Regions from separate parts of the Homo sapiens genome. Here regions 2, 3 and 4 are each linked to region 1. Evidence: promoter capture Hi-C in 16 types of primary human blood cells and fetal thymus (Javierre and others, 2016). All regions are on one chromosome and are shown on one strand. Each heading gives the region's core, a stretch centred on a gene start or on the middle of the fragment in contact. The rest is flanking DNA. Distances are from core to core; before and after follow the strand shown.

Region 1 (3,360 bases), core at 1-2,500:
GCCACTTCGGCTGGTGTTCCCACAAAGGCACCAGTGGCACCTGCGGTCATGCCAATCACAGCCTTCAGCAGAAAGCCAGGGGGAGTACCATCAGCCCCAGTCAGGCGCTCAAACAGCACGGTATAGATGCCAAGGCGGGTAGTGGTGTAGGTGGCCTGACGCAGCAGGCCAGCCGACAGCCTGAGGAGCAGAGGGGTCAGCATATCAGGCCAAGGTCTAGAGCTGCCAACCCACAGTCTACCCTCCATCCTGAGGCCCCAATACCCAGTGTAAATGCCCCTCAGGCCTTCTGCCTTCAGGATACTGGTGAGGGCATGGAAGCTGGTTTTGTACTCTCGAGTCTTGGCCCCTTCCCCGCTCAACTGCATCCGGTTCTTCACCAGGTCCAGGGGCTGGACAAAAACTGTAGCTCCCATCCTGGGGGAAGACAGAGGTGGAGTGAAGGGCCAGGCATTCCAGATCTACCAGTGCCCACTGGAGCCTGGCAGCAAGAGGTTACAAAGGTCAGGGCCTGCCATGCGATTCAAGAATCAGGATGCTGGTGAGCATGTGTATAAGAGTCTATATGTACACCAAGTGCAACGGGTCTGAAAAGTCTAGTTGTCCAGTAGGGGCCATGCAATGAAAGTGCTCCAAGCAGCTTCATGACAGTCAAGCAGTGACCTGGGGCTGCACGCAGTCCGACACAGGGAGGGGAGGAAGGGGCATCCAAGATTTAGGACTCCAGGTAGTCCTGCAGGAGCCATTTAATGGCCTGGAACCCCCTGCCGCCCGGCCGAGCTTAGCAATGCGCTGGGAAACTCAGCTGGCCCGGCGGGGGTTGTGCAACGACCCTGCATGCAGTCCATAAGGGTCCTGCAATGGGGCCCTAGCAGCCCATCGGGGAACTCGCAATACGCTGGAGATCGCGCTGACCCCGTGCCGGCACAGTTCACTGCAACAGACCCAGAGATGAACCGGGCCCGGTTCCTTTTGCCCTTCCCTTCCTCCTCTTTTCCCATCCCTGGGGCCTGAGCTTACCCGGCCAGGCCCCCAAACAGGAACTTGACGGACTTAGGGGAGGTACGGGGCTTCCCGTCTATCCCGCCGGCCCCGGCACTCGCCGTCGCCGCCATCGCCACTCAATGGCCCTCGGCTCCGGGTCCCGTGCGCGCGCGGCCCCGCTCGCGCCCAAGGTGACACCGCGCGCGCAACAGAGCGAGGGCGCGCGCACGCCCCTCCAGCTCTCAGGTCCGACACCCGCTGGAAGCCGGCGCGGGCGCAGGCGCGCAGCGCAAAGGCGGCCGGGAGTAAGGCGGAGCTGAAGGAGGAGCTTGATGGAAGCGTGCGAGAAGGGGCGTAACTGATTTGGAAACCAGAGGAAAGGCGCTGTTTTCACCGAATTAGAATCGCGGGAAAATAGAGAAGAGTTTGTTTGAAGGTCTCGCGAGATCGAGTGAGTACGGCTCGCCAAGTTGGAGCGCTCTCGCGATAGACACAGCAACTATTCAGCTGCGAGGGGACGGGAGAGGTGGTGAGCACTCTCGCGAGATTTGAAGGAGCGGCGGAGGCCAGAGGGAGGAGAGGTTTGTAAACTAGGAGGCTCCGGGTTTCCGGGCACTTTTATTAGGTCGTCTTCTGGGCCACCAGTGCCCCTTCCATCTCCACAGGCAGTCCCTCCATCGCTAACCTTTTTTTAACCGGCCTTTTAGGACCGGAAGTCCTTCATCTCAAGCATCCAATGCTGAAAGCGGCCTGATTTTCTCTACCGGAAGCCCTTTTCCAGAGGCTGGGAACACGGCCCACCTAGCAGGAAGTCCCACCTCCTTGAGCTCCGCCACCCTTCCCGAAGTTTTTCTGTCACCTGTGTTAGGCTCCGTCCCCTTTCCGCGTTTTATCCCCGTACCAGAAAAGGATACATTTAGTGCCTCCCACCCAGCTCCACTAAACGGGTTGGATATCTCATTCTTTGAGTTGGTGTTCCTTCCCCGGCGCCCCCATGTAGCTGGGAAGTGGGACCTGGGGGTGGTTGGACCCCTGGGATCCTAAAGGAGGGGCAGGGAGGGCGCAGAACTCCGCTTCTGCTCCTTGCTACCAGGACGCGCGGCCTCCTCAGCCTCTTTCCTCCCGCTGCCATGCACCCTGCAGCCTTCCCGCTTCCTGTGGTTGTGGCCGCTGTGCTGTGGGGAGCGGCCCCGACCCGGGGGCTCATTCGAGCGGTGAGTCTGAGGGACGGATGGGGAAAGGGCGCTGAAAGGAAGGGTTGCAGGCTGAAGGGGAACATCGCCTTTTTTGTCCGCAGACCTCGGACCACAATGCCAGCATGGACTTTGCAGACCTTCCAGCTCTGTTTGGGGCTACCTTGAGCCAGGAGGGCCTCCAGGTGATTTTCTTTCTTTTCTTTTCCTCCTTCCCTCCCTTCCTTCCTTTTCTGTCTTTTTTCTTTTTTTAGTATTTCGCAAGATCCTCCATCCTAGGCTGGGGTTGGGGAGGTTTGTCCTGGGTGAAACTGGAGGTAGGAAAATGAAGTTAGGAACTGAGCACGTCTAGTGTAGAACCCAGAATCTAGAGGGAGAAGACAGAGTGTCCACCCCTGGAACTCCGAGGTTATCAGGGAGACTGAAAGTGGACGAAGACAGAAGGCAGGATCAACGGTCCTTATCAGGAAGGTCTCAGGTGCTAGTTATTGCTTATATGACTTTGGGCAAGTTAATCTCTCTGAGCCTTAGTTTGTTTTACTGTAAAATGGGATATTAGAAGTTTTCCTAGGGTTATTGTGAAGATCAAAGTAGATACGCAATTTTGGTAGTATTTCATCCCAAAGACTGCCACATAGCAAGAACTCAGTTGGGCCTTAGTAGCAGTCGAGTTGTTTGTGAGATGGGTAATTAGAAAATTGAAGAGGCCGGGCGCGGTGGCTCACATCTGTAATCCCAGTTCAAGACCAGCCTGGCCAACATGGAGAAACCCTATCTCTACTAAAATGGCAAAAATTAGCTGGGCGTGATGGTGCACGCATGTAGTCCCAACTACTTGGGAGGCTGAGGCAGGAGAATCACTTGAAACCGGAAGGTGGAGGTTGCAGTGAGCCGAGATCGCGCCACTGCACTCCAGCCTGGGTGACAAAACGAGACTCCATCTCAAAAAAAAGAAAAACAAAAAGAAAACTGAAGGGAGGGGAGTGTGTCTGTATGAGTATGTGCTGGAGAGGGGACTGTGAAACAGAACTTGAGAGAAAGTGACATGGGTGGTTTGAGAATTGAATTACAATTGGAATATTAGAAGGCAAAAATAATTGCATTAGCTTGCAGTATAGGGTACAGATTAGCCCATCTGGGACAGCGAGAGGGATGATGGGAGAGTTTGGTGAAGGGATGTTTT
Region 2 (3,506 bases), core at 648-3,147, 510 kb after region 1:
TTGACCTCCCAAAGTGCTAGGATTACAGGTGTGAGCCACCATGCCCAGCCTCAATTTTCTTTTTAAATGACCTGTAATTTGGCAATATGTATGTAGATTTTGAATATACACATTAAAAGTGTAACATCTGACCCAGCAATGTTACACTTACGAATTTCACCTGCAGATACACATCGCACAGAGACCATATCGCCAGAACCAAACACATAACAGTGGAAATAGCAGTTGTCTCAGGGGCCAGCTGGGGAGGCTGGGAGACAAGGGGATGAGAAGGACATTATTACTATTTACTATTTTATATATTTTAAACTTTGAACCATGTAAATATAGTACCTATTAAAGAATAAAAAAGCATTTCTAAGGATGTAGTAAATATATACATCCCAATAAGGAGTGATCTGTAAAATGTATTAAATGAAAAAAAGCAGTGTGTTTCTCATTGCTTTTTTAAAGCAATATTTATCAACTGAAGGATGGATAAATGCATTTTGGTTTATTCACAGAATGGAATAGCACTTAGTGTGAAAAAGCATCAGCACAAATATACTATACGGAACAAGCTGAATGAAAACCGCTTACTCAAGAATAACTAACATAAACTTACAAACAACAGGTGGTTTAGGGATACATACGCATATAGTAAAACAGTGAAGAAAAGCAAGGCAATTACAAACAAAATATGGAAGAGTGGGTACCCCAAAAGAGTGGAAGGAGGCGAGGGCAAGTGGGTGGGGGGGACTCCTGGGGGCTTCAATTGGGTACACAGGTGTTAGATTTTAACCATTCCTTACACCTTATGTATCTTCTTCATTTGTATGTAAGAATTTAGCAATGAAAGAAAAAAAATCAAGCACAGAACAATACTCAATGTGTGTTGCTATTTGTGTTTTAAAACATACTACAGGCTGGGCGTGGTGGCTCACGCCTGTAATCCCAGCACTTTGGGAGACCGAGGTGGGCGGACCACCTAGGTCAGGAGTTCAAGACCAGCCTGGTCAACATAGTGAAACTCCATCTATACTAAAAAATACAAAAATTAGCCGGGCATGGTGGTGCACACCTGTAGTCCTAGCTACTCGGGAGGCTGAGGCAGGAGAATCACCTGAACCCGGCAGGTGGAGGTTGCAGTGAGCTGGGATCGCACCACTGCACTCCAGCCTGGGCAACAGAGTGAGACCCTGTCTCAAAACAAAAACAAAAACAAAAACATACTACAGCAGGGGCTTGGTGGCTCACACCTGTAGTCCCAGCTACTTGGGAAGCTGATGTGGGAGAATCACCTGAGCCCGGGAGGTTGAGGCTGCAGTGTGCTGAGAATGTGCCACTGCACTCCAGCCTGGACAACCAGAGTGAGACCCTGTCTCAAAAATAAATAAATAAATACATAAATAAAATCAAACACACTACATATACTCATATATGCATACATTTGCTCTAGAAGTCTACTAGAAAATGGTTCCAGTGGTTGTTCTAGGGGAAGGAAACTGTGAACCTGAGGATCAGGGCAGGACCCTTGTATACCCATCAACTGGTGACTTTGTGTTTTCTTTCCTTCTTTTTTAAACCAATTGCATTTCTTAAGAAAAGGGGGGGCAATAAAAAGAAAAGGAAAATGGTGCGTTGATGAGAGGCCAGGTGCCAAAGCCAATATCATAAATATTTCCAATTATTTTCTTCTTCTGTAGAGAAATTACTAATGAACAGGAGAGATGGATCAAATTCCAGTTAAAGGCAAAGAAATGTGATCTTTGCAGTCCCTGTGCTGATAAAAGTACAATTTCATTACATTTCTGTAGTATCCCAAGGACTCGCATGATGACCTTCACTGGTTCCAGAGGTCAAGGAACTTTATTGATGGTGCTGATAGTACAGAATCTATCGTTTCATAGCTAGGAACACTGGCGCATGCCTGTGGTCCCAGCTACTTGGGAGGCTGAGGCGGGGGGATCGCTGGAGCCCAGGAGTTGGAGGCTGTGATGGAGCCTGTGAATAGTCACTGCACCTCCACCTGGGCCACACAGTGAGACCCTGTCTCTTTAAAAGTCAATCAATGTATCTATCTATCATTTCATGATTTTCAGATGCTTCTCTAATAACTAATGTTGTCATCCACAAAATTAAATAAACAAAAGGAGATGACCAATATACTTTATTTTTTTGGAAGTGTCCATTTGTTGTTGTTTGTCTCCTCACCCACCTTCTGCAAAACTGTGGATTTCACTTACCTGGAGATGGCTTCGACATGAAGTCAAAGGTGAGCACATTTGGGACTTTCATTGCTAGAAGCTGAAGCATCACACTGGCCAGGTTACACCTGTGAAGAGCATGAGACCAGGGTCATGACCTGATCCCTCTGCCATTGAGTCAGAACCCCTCATGGTGGAGTGTGAGTAAAAACTGCAGCTCTGGGCAAGCAGGAGAGACATGGTGACAAACAGCAGCAGTGCAGGAGCAACTGGTGCCTACCTCTGGATCTCTGGCACGGTCATCTTATCAAACTTCTCAAACTCGTCCTCCGTGTAGAGCCGGTAGCAGATGCCACTGTCCTCTCTGCCAGCCCTCCCTGTGCGCTGCCAAGCCTGCGTCTTCGATACCCGCTGCACTGCTAACACCTCAAGACCACTGTCTGGATGGAGAGTGAGCCCCATTAGTGCTTCATCACATGAACAAACTCTTTCTACAGTGTCGATAAAAAGAAGCACACCAGTGGTTCTTTCAGCAACACGGGGGTCCAGAAAGCCTCAAGGCTAGCACAATGGACAGCACAAAACCAGACTGCTCCGCAGCGGTTTGGCCCTAGTGAAACAAGGCTTTGCCATAAGCCCACTGTGAAATCTGTTACAAAAACATCAGAAAAACCTCACGCATGCAGCAAGGGGCGAGAAGAGTAGTTTCCGAGGTCTTGCCTTAGATGGTAGGATGGCCAACCCCTCCAGTTTGCTTGGGACAGAGGGTTTCCTGGGATGTCGGATTTTGGGTGCTAAAACTGGGAGTTTCAGCAAACTAGGATGGGGGTCATACTATCAATCAATGACTACGAAATTAAATGCCTCAAATCACTTGTGTGCTTTATCCTCCCTCCCAGTTCTGCTGTAAGACAGAAATAATGTGATGTCTGTTTTCTAGCAGTAAATGAGGTTCATTTTCTTGATAAAGGTGTATCATTAGCCTGGCACTGGAGACCCAAGCTCTTTCACCTACGTCATCACAAAAAGATACACCTGTGGAAGCCAGGACCCTCAAATGTTTACTAGAGCATTTCAGTTCAATAATTGGGAGCAATAATTTCAGTGGTCTCAAATCCTCTGTGGAATAAAGCAAAGTATAAAACAGACATGAGTCAAGATGACCTTAAGTTAGCTTCTCACTGCACCTTCTTAGGAGAAGCCAGTGCTCCTTCCATGCCTCACCTCAGCCAGGAGATCTGGTTCCTTCCTGAGAAACCTGGGAGCTCAAACCAGCCATATATATATAGTTTCTGATGACACCCTTTGATTGACACCCAG
Region 3 (3,440 bases), core at 273-2,772, 680 kb before region 1:
TCATGTCCCCATGTCCAAAGGAGGGCCATTTTTCAAAGCTCAGTTCAAGCAATGTCTCCTGCAACAAGACTTTCCCTGATTATCCAAAATACATTCCCCATTACTTCCTTAAAAAATCTCTCCCTGAGTTTTCAAAGTAACTCCTAAGCATTTTTTACCCTTCACCTTAAAATATAGTTTCTCATATACAATTTCTTTTATCTCCCCTCCTAGACTTCAGAACTCCCTGTGAATAAGCTTTAGTTCTGGCTATTCGTATTTAACTATCAATTACTTCTCCCTCTATACCCATTCCATGGTTATCTCCTCCTCCCGACAGTACCTTACCAGATGGAGTTCAATAAATACCACAGGTTCAACAGGAGATTCTGGGGACATAGCAATTTCTCATTTGGTTCAGCAAGGCTGTAAATCATGATAGTATCTCAAATTGCCTACAGCAAATCACCTTGCCAGTGACAGAATCCTGTGTATCTCAGCACAATTCAGTAGCTTTACTTTGACATAACCACTAATGGATAAATTTTATTTCTCAGTAAAAATAATTCACAAGGAGAAAGCTAACAGCTACAGCTGGTGACAGTAGTCACCAGGAAAGGGAGAGAAAAGAAAAGAATGGTATAAAAGGAACAGTCCTTAAGAGGTCTCTGGACTATATATAATTATCAATGACCTGGGACATTTGTTCAATAAGTAAAACAATAAACAGATAAATTTCAGAAGTAGGGCCGGGCGCGGTGGCTCACGCCTGTAATCCCAGCACTTTGGGAGGCCGAGGCGGGCGGATCACGAGGTCAGGAGATCAAGACCATCCTTGCTAACACGGTGAAACCTCATCTCTACCAAAAATACAAAAAATTAGCCAGGCTTGGTGGCGGGCGCCTGTAGTCCCAGCTACTCGGGAGGCTGAGATAGGAGAATGGTGTGAACCTGGGAGGGGAGCTTGCAGTGAGCCGAGATCGCACCACTGCACTCCAGCCTGGGAGACAGAGCCAGACTCCAACTCAAAAAAAAAAAAAAAAAGTGGAAACAGCAAAGTTCCTTCTTTCCTTATTTCTACCAGCCTCCACTAATGAAGCATTTTCTGGAACAGGACTATCCAAAGCACTTCTGGCAATGGTGCAAGTGTTCTATTAATCTGTGCTGTCCATTAGGGGGAGCTACTAGCCACATGGCTACTGAGTACTTGGAATAGGACTAGTACAACTGAGAAGTTAATTTTAAATTTTATTTAATTTTAATCAAATTTAAGTAGCCACATGTGGCTAGTGACTATTGTGTTGGTCAATGAATACCCAGGACATGGAATGTTTTCCCCATTTTGCTTGGGTTGTTGTCAAAAGTATTTTTCTGATCAAATTCCATCAAGCTAACAAAAGTTTATGATAAATTTTCTGTTCAATATACTATTTACAAAAAAATTACATTTTTTTCAATTTTTACTTTTACTGAGGAAAAGAAATGGAGAGTGATTTTAGAGGAGACTCAAGAGAAAGACTGTGCACCAGGGTGAAAGCATCAGGCGCTGTGGGAAAAGCATCAGTCGCTGTGGAAGAAACATTAGGCGCTGTGGAAAAAGGCTCTTCCTGCAACTGAGAAATATCCTAGGATTCCCACAGCTACTTGTGAGCTACAGATGATCCCCCTTTTAAAGCTGAGGACACTGAGACTGACAGCAATTAATTGACTTGCTTATGATCACAGCTTAAACTAGGATTTAAATCCATGTCCAGCTGCAGAGTCTGAGCTCTTAAACACTACATTTTATTTTATTATTATTATTTTTTGAGACAGTCTCTGTTGCTCAGGCTGGAGTGCGGTGGCGCGATCTCGGATCACTGCAACCTCCACCTTCCGGGTTCAAGTGATTCTCCTGACTCAAGTCTCCTGAGCAGCTGGGATTACAGGCACATGCCACCATGCCTGGCTAATTTTTGTATGTTTAGTAGAGATGGGGTTCCACCATGTTGGTCAGGCTGGTCTGGAACTCCTGACCTCAAGTGATCCGCCCACCTTGGCCTCCCAAAGTGCTGAGATTACAGGCGTGAGCCACCGTGCCCGGCCTTAAACATTGTATTTTAGTTGCTAAAACAAAAATGGGCTGGATGAAAAGTAGGTTAGGTAGCTCCTAGCAGACTTAGGTTATGCAGAGTATAATAAAAGGTGGACCAGCCAGTTTGCTTGACAAGAGGCTAAGGATGTATCCAGGCAACTTTTCTTGATGGCTAGCAGGTGATGCTCAATAAATTCATACATTCCTTCAACCACAGCCATGATTCTAAGCTGGGAGATACAGGAGTGAGCAAAACAGACCAAGTTCCTGCCCTCATGGGGTTTATATTCCAGTGAGGGATGCTCTCTAATGAGATGACAACTGAACAGACACTGAGTGAATAAAGTGGGTCAGTTGTGTGGAGAAACAGCGGAGGACTGTTCCAGGCCAAGGAAACTGCAGGGACAAAGACGCAGAGGTAGCAGCATGTCGGGCACACACAAAGAACGCAAAAAAGTCAGTGTGGCAGGGGCACAGTGAATGAAAGTAGGAAATAAGCTCGAAGTGTTAAGTGGGGCCCACACCCTGTTAATACTTAACAGAGAACTGGAATATATTTTAAGATTACGGAGAAGTGTGAGAGTTGGGCATTGAGGGGCAGGAGTATTAAGAAGAGTAGGAGAGACATGATCTGATTGATGTCTTAAAGGGAACACTAGAAACTGTGAAATTAGGCTGTGAGAGAGCAAAATCTAGGAGGAAAAGTTAAAAGCAAACTTTTAATTGGAACCTTTTGAAGTAGTTCACTTACAAACGAAGCTTAGGGCTGGGAGCGGTGGCTCACACCTGTAATCCCAGCACTTCAGGAGGCCCAGGCAGGTGAATGGCTTGAGCCCAGGAGTTCAAGACCAGCCTGGACAACATCACAAAACCCCAACTCTACAAAAAATACAAAAATTAGCCAATGTGGTGGCATGCACATCTGCACTCCCAGCTACTTGGGAGGCTGAAGTGAGGGAATCACTTGAGCCTGGGAGGTGGAGATTGCAATGAGCTGTGATCACGCCATTGTACTCCAGCCTGGGTGACGGAGTGAGATCCTGTCTCCAAAAAAAAAAAAAAAAAAAAAAAACCCACAAATGAAGCTTAGATTAAGCAGGATAGCCACAGAGATGTAGAGTTGGGGAATAAAACTAATTTTAGGACAGACTTTAGCTAAATATATATGGTCAAATGAATAGCCATGGATAGATGGAAGGAAAGAAGGTTGTTCTCTAAACAAGTCACATAAGAAGCTGTATCCTCAGTCTCTCACGATCCTATTTACTATTCCTAGGCACTATCTCCCACATTCTCACATGGCCAACCAACCATTATCAGGGAAGTTCCCATAGTGTGTTTACAGATCATTCAAGTTATATGACACAGATATCTGCTATTTATTTAT
Region 4 (3,283 bases), core at 591-3,090, 530 kb after region 1:
CATTTTTAACTTGTCTGGGATGGTCTGTGGACTTAACTGGTCTGATCACGACCATAACAGCTGGTGGTCACCTTTGCTTTTCCGACCACCAAATTACTGCCCTTGATCATGTTCAGTTTCCCTCTATCCCACTTTCAGAGACAACCACAAGCTTCAGCAACTAGGCTCAAGCTTGCATGCATACACTTTAATCCCTCTATAATTAAAAATACCAGATAATACTTTGCTGATCAATAAACAAAGGTATTTATTCAGCACCCATGTGCCAAGCACTGTGCTAGGCACTGTGGTGGATACAAAAATTAAGACATGGTCCCTGCCCTTAAGGAGCTTACATTCTCATGAGGGAGACAAGACTAATATACATGTACCAGCTAGGAACAGTACAAGACAATATATAATTTGGCGTTAAGAATGTCATACAGACTTGAAGCTTTATAGGGATTCAGAGACAGACAATAAAATAGGCCTTAGAGTCAAGATTTTTTGAGGAATCAGGAACAAGGCCAGGCCTTGAAGAACTGAAGAGACTTAAGTTGAGGTCCCTGTTAGGTAGAAGTGGGAGTAAAGTTAAGAAAAAAACAAGTATGCATATAATGTAGGGGCTTACTAAGAAGTCACTGTGGATTTCTGAGCAGAGGAGTGACTTGATCATACAAGATTCAACAATTTTATTGCAAACTCATAAAATATGTTTAAGTAGCCTGGAGACATCCTACAGAACACAGAAAATAATGGCAGGATCATGACTAACAACATAGCTGGAACTCACCTGTCAAAGAAAAACAGCTACAACATAAAACACTGGCAGGATAGATGACAATAGTTCTAGGAAGCCCATTACTCAACATGGCAATAGCTCCAATGCTTCCTTATTTTCAGAGGCCCCAGAGACTGAGGGTTTCATTATCCAGACCCAGGACTTAGGTGTTCTGCTTCTAGAGACTACACAAGAGGTATGAAAGATATGAGGACATACAAGAGTGACACAGAAAAAACAAGAGGAAGAGAGAAACAAATAGAAATCCATACTGGAAAAAAACGCACCGAAATGTATATAAAATGTATCTCCTAAGGAGATGCAATTTGTATGTCCATTTATTTTTAAATGAACGTATACCGTATTTCCATAACAAACAAAAAACACTATGCTTTAGTCAAGTGTGCTTTTCAGTATCACTAGAAGAATCCAGGAATCCCTCAAATTATGTGTAAGGTTAGTTGGTTGGTCTCAAAATTCCATGTATCAAATCTCACTTTCAGTTTATTTGCATTGTGAAAGGGAAGTGTGTTCTGGAAGAACTAAGATTGAGAGGTAAATTGGGGAGAAAGTAAGGACTTTTCCTTATGTCCATTCAAGCACAGGTATCCTGTCAAGCAACACAGGGCTAGGAATGGTGGTTGTAGGGCTGGCCAAACTGATGAGAGGTGATTGAAATTACCACTGCTCAGGACACAGTGTAGTCAGTCACACAGCAGGGCATCCTGCCACTGGGAACTTGCACCCTATAAAATCGGAGAAATCAAAAACCCTGTAACTGCCTGCCTTTAGGCTGTATATTCAAAATGTATTTCCTGTTTTACCTAGTCATTAATGTATACAGATATTCCCTACTTAAATGAACAGTGAGTTAACAGATTTTAGGATTAGTATTTTACCACAAAAATGCCATTCATTGCATAACTCCAACTCAGGGAGAACAAATAAAACTAGAGAAACTCATTTCTAGCCCAAAAACAATTTAAAAAAAAAAAACAAAAAACAAAATTCTAACAAACGTCACTGATAAAGCGTTCTTGAGCAAAAACAAGATAGGATAAAACTTAAGAATCCCATAAGGATTATACATGCTAAGATTGGCTTTTAAACTTTGAAAACCTTTTTTAAACTGCTTAAAAAGCAGTCCCATAGACCCAGGTTCCATAAAATTGCAACAATCATATTCAAAGTTATTAGCAACATGTAAAATACTTAAATACCATTAGTTATGCAATTCCATTTAAAGACATTAAAACACTTTTCACTTCAAAAACAATCTGAAAATTCCTATTTAGGATGTCCATTATGTTTAAGCCTATGTCTATCTTTCTGAGGACAATGTCACATTCTGGAAAGCTACCCCTTAACAAAGGTTGAATGAACTACTACTAACAATCCACTTTTGGGAAAGGGACCTGTGCCTACATGCCGTTAATGAAAGCTGTTTGGAATCATCTCTTTCCTAGGGGTGCTCTTTCGACTCTTCCAGGTTCTGGAAGTTACTTAAGCAGTGTGAATGCAAACCTGCTGAGACTCAGGGAAGACTTAATATTTAGGGGAAGTATTTATTGAACCACAGCATTAAGTGTCTACTTCTGTGGACCCTGTCTAATTTCTACCTGATTGGGAAGGTAATCCAGGTACTTGGCTCTGAAAAGGTTCTTGAATTTTCACGAAGCAAATGACTAATGTTAACTAGCCAAAGACCCTGGAAGAACATATGCCTAGCTAACTGGTATCTGTTCGTCTGGCTCCAAAGTCAACATTCTAACTTGGTTTCCAAATCTAATGAAAATCTGAGACCCTGTCTCTATTTTTTTTTTTTAATTAAAAAAACAAAAAACAAAACAAAACAAAAAAGGCAAAAAAAAAAAAAATGGCTGGGCATGGTGGCTCATGCCTGTCATCCTAGCACTTTGGGAGGCTGAGGTGGGAGGATTGCTTGAGTCCAGGAGTTCAAGACCAGCCTGGGCAACACAGTGAGACCCCATCTGTATTTAAAAAAAAATTTTTAATTAAAACTTTTTTAAAAATAAAAGAAAAAAAAAGTCTAATGAAAATCTTCCTAGTTTTACAAAAATGTGGCCCTTACCAATCTTTCCCTGGATACTTCTTAATGGAGAAATGTAAGTAAAGCAAATAAGATGCCACATTAGCTTACAGCTGACTTTCCTATAGCTGAATTCCTACTGCTACAAGAACCATCCTCCCTCCTTTTTTTTCATGTTGTCTGACAAAGTTTGGCAAAACCCAGATGCAAAACAACCTATCCAGATGACAGAAATAAATCATCTTCCTGCTGAATCTTGCATTCTGAGTTAGTAAGATGTACACAACCACAGCATGACAGCCACGTATTTCCAATCCTGAAATGAAATCCAGTTAAAAGTTGTGAAGACACAGGAAGAACAGCTGTGTAAACTGTTCTGAGCTCAGATCTACGCAGGAGGGCTACAATACATTATCAGAATTTAAAAGATCACACACAAAAGCTTTAATACAGTGAGAGAAAAATGGAATTCC

Evidence for each region. The method cuts DNA at HindIII sites, captures the fragments that hold promoters and counts their contacts. A CHiCAGO score of 5 or more calls a contact.
Region 2: a fragment that was not itself captured here is called in contact with the fragment with the promoter of SLC25A11 in region 1 in 1 of 17 cell types (naive B cells); the score reaches 5.4 in naive B cells.
Region 3: a fragment that was not itself captured here is called in contact with the fragment with the promoter of SLC25A11 in region 1 in 2 of 17 cell types (total CD4 T cells and activated CD4 T cells); the score reaches 5.1 in total CD4 T cells.
Region 4: a fragment that was not itself captured here is called in contact with the fragment with the promoter of SLC25A11 in region 1 in 1 of 17 cell types (naive B cells); the score reaches 5.6 in naive B cells.

The regions. Positions count from the first base shown.
Region 1 is chr17:4,938,796-4,942,155 of GRCh38, forward strand. SLC25A11 (solute carrier family 25 member 11) reads right to left here and starts at 1,251. Exons shown (of 8, transcript NM_003562.5): 1 at 1,021-1,251; 2 at 265-417; 3 at 1-180. The coding sequence starts at 1,115. RNF167 (ring finger protein 167) reads left to right here and starts at 1,473. Exons shown (of 10, transcript NM_015528.3): 1 at 1,473-1,565; 2 at 1,692-2,198; 3 at 2,282-2,362. The coding sequence starts at 2,115. RefSeq lists enhancers at 1-58, 59-584, 1,301-1,370, 2,251-2,380 and silencers at 1,091-1,160, 1,723-1,917. The HindIII fragment of the contact is 8,197 bases long and covers 1-3,360 here.
Region 2 is chr17:5,451,355-5,454,860 of GRCh38, forward strand. DHX33 (DEAH-box helicase 33) reads right to left here. Exons shown (of 12, transcript NM_020162.4): 7 at 2,467-2,626; 8 at 2,226-2,314. Among named protein-coding and RNA genes, the nearest start is that of C1QBP, 14 kb to the left of the region's middle. The HindIII fragment of the contact is 6,981 bases long and covers 1-3,506 here.
Region 3 is chr17:4,257,518-4,260,957 of GRCh38, forward strand. All of the region lies in intron 1 of ANKFY1 (ankyrin repeat and FYVE domain containing 1), which reads right to left. Among named protein-coding and RNA genes, the nearest start is that of ANKFY1, 4.7 kb to the right of the region's middle. The HindIII fragment of the contact is 2,575 bases long and covers 236-2,810 here.
Region 4 is chr17:5,471,032-5,474,314 of GRCh38, forward strand. DERL2 (derlin 2) reads right to left here. Exons shown (of 7, transcript NM_016041.5): 7 at 223-3,283. Among named protein-coding and RNA genes, the nearest start is that of DHX33-DT, 3.6 kb to the left of the region's middle. The HindIII fragment of the contact is 2,819 bases long and covers 432-3,250 here.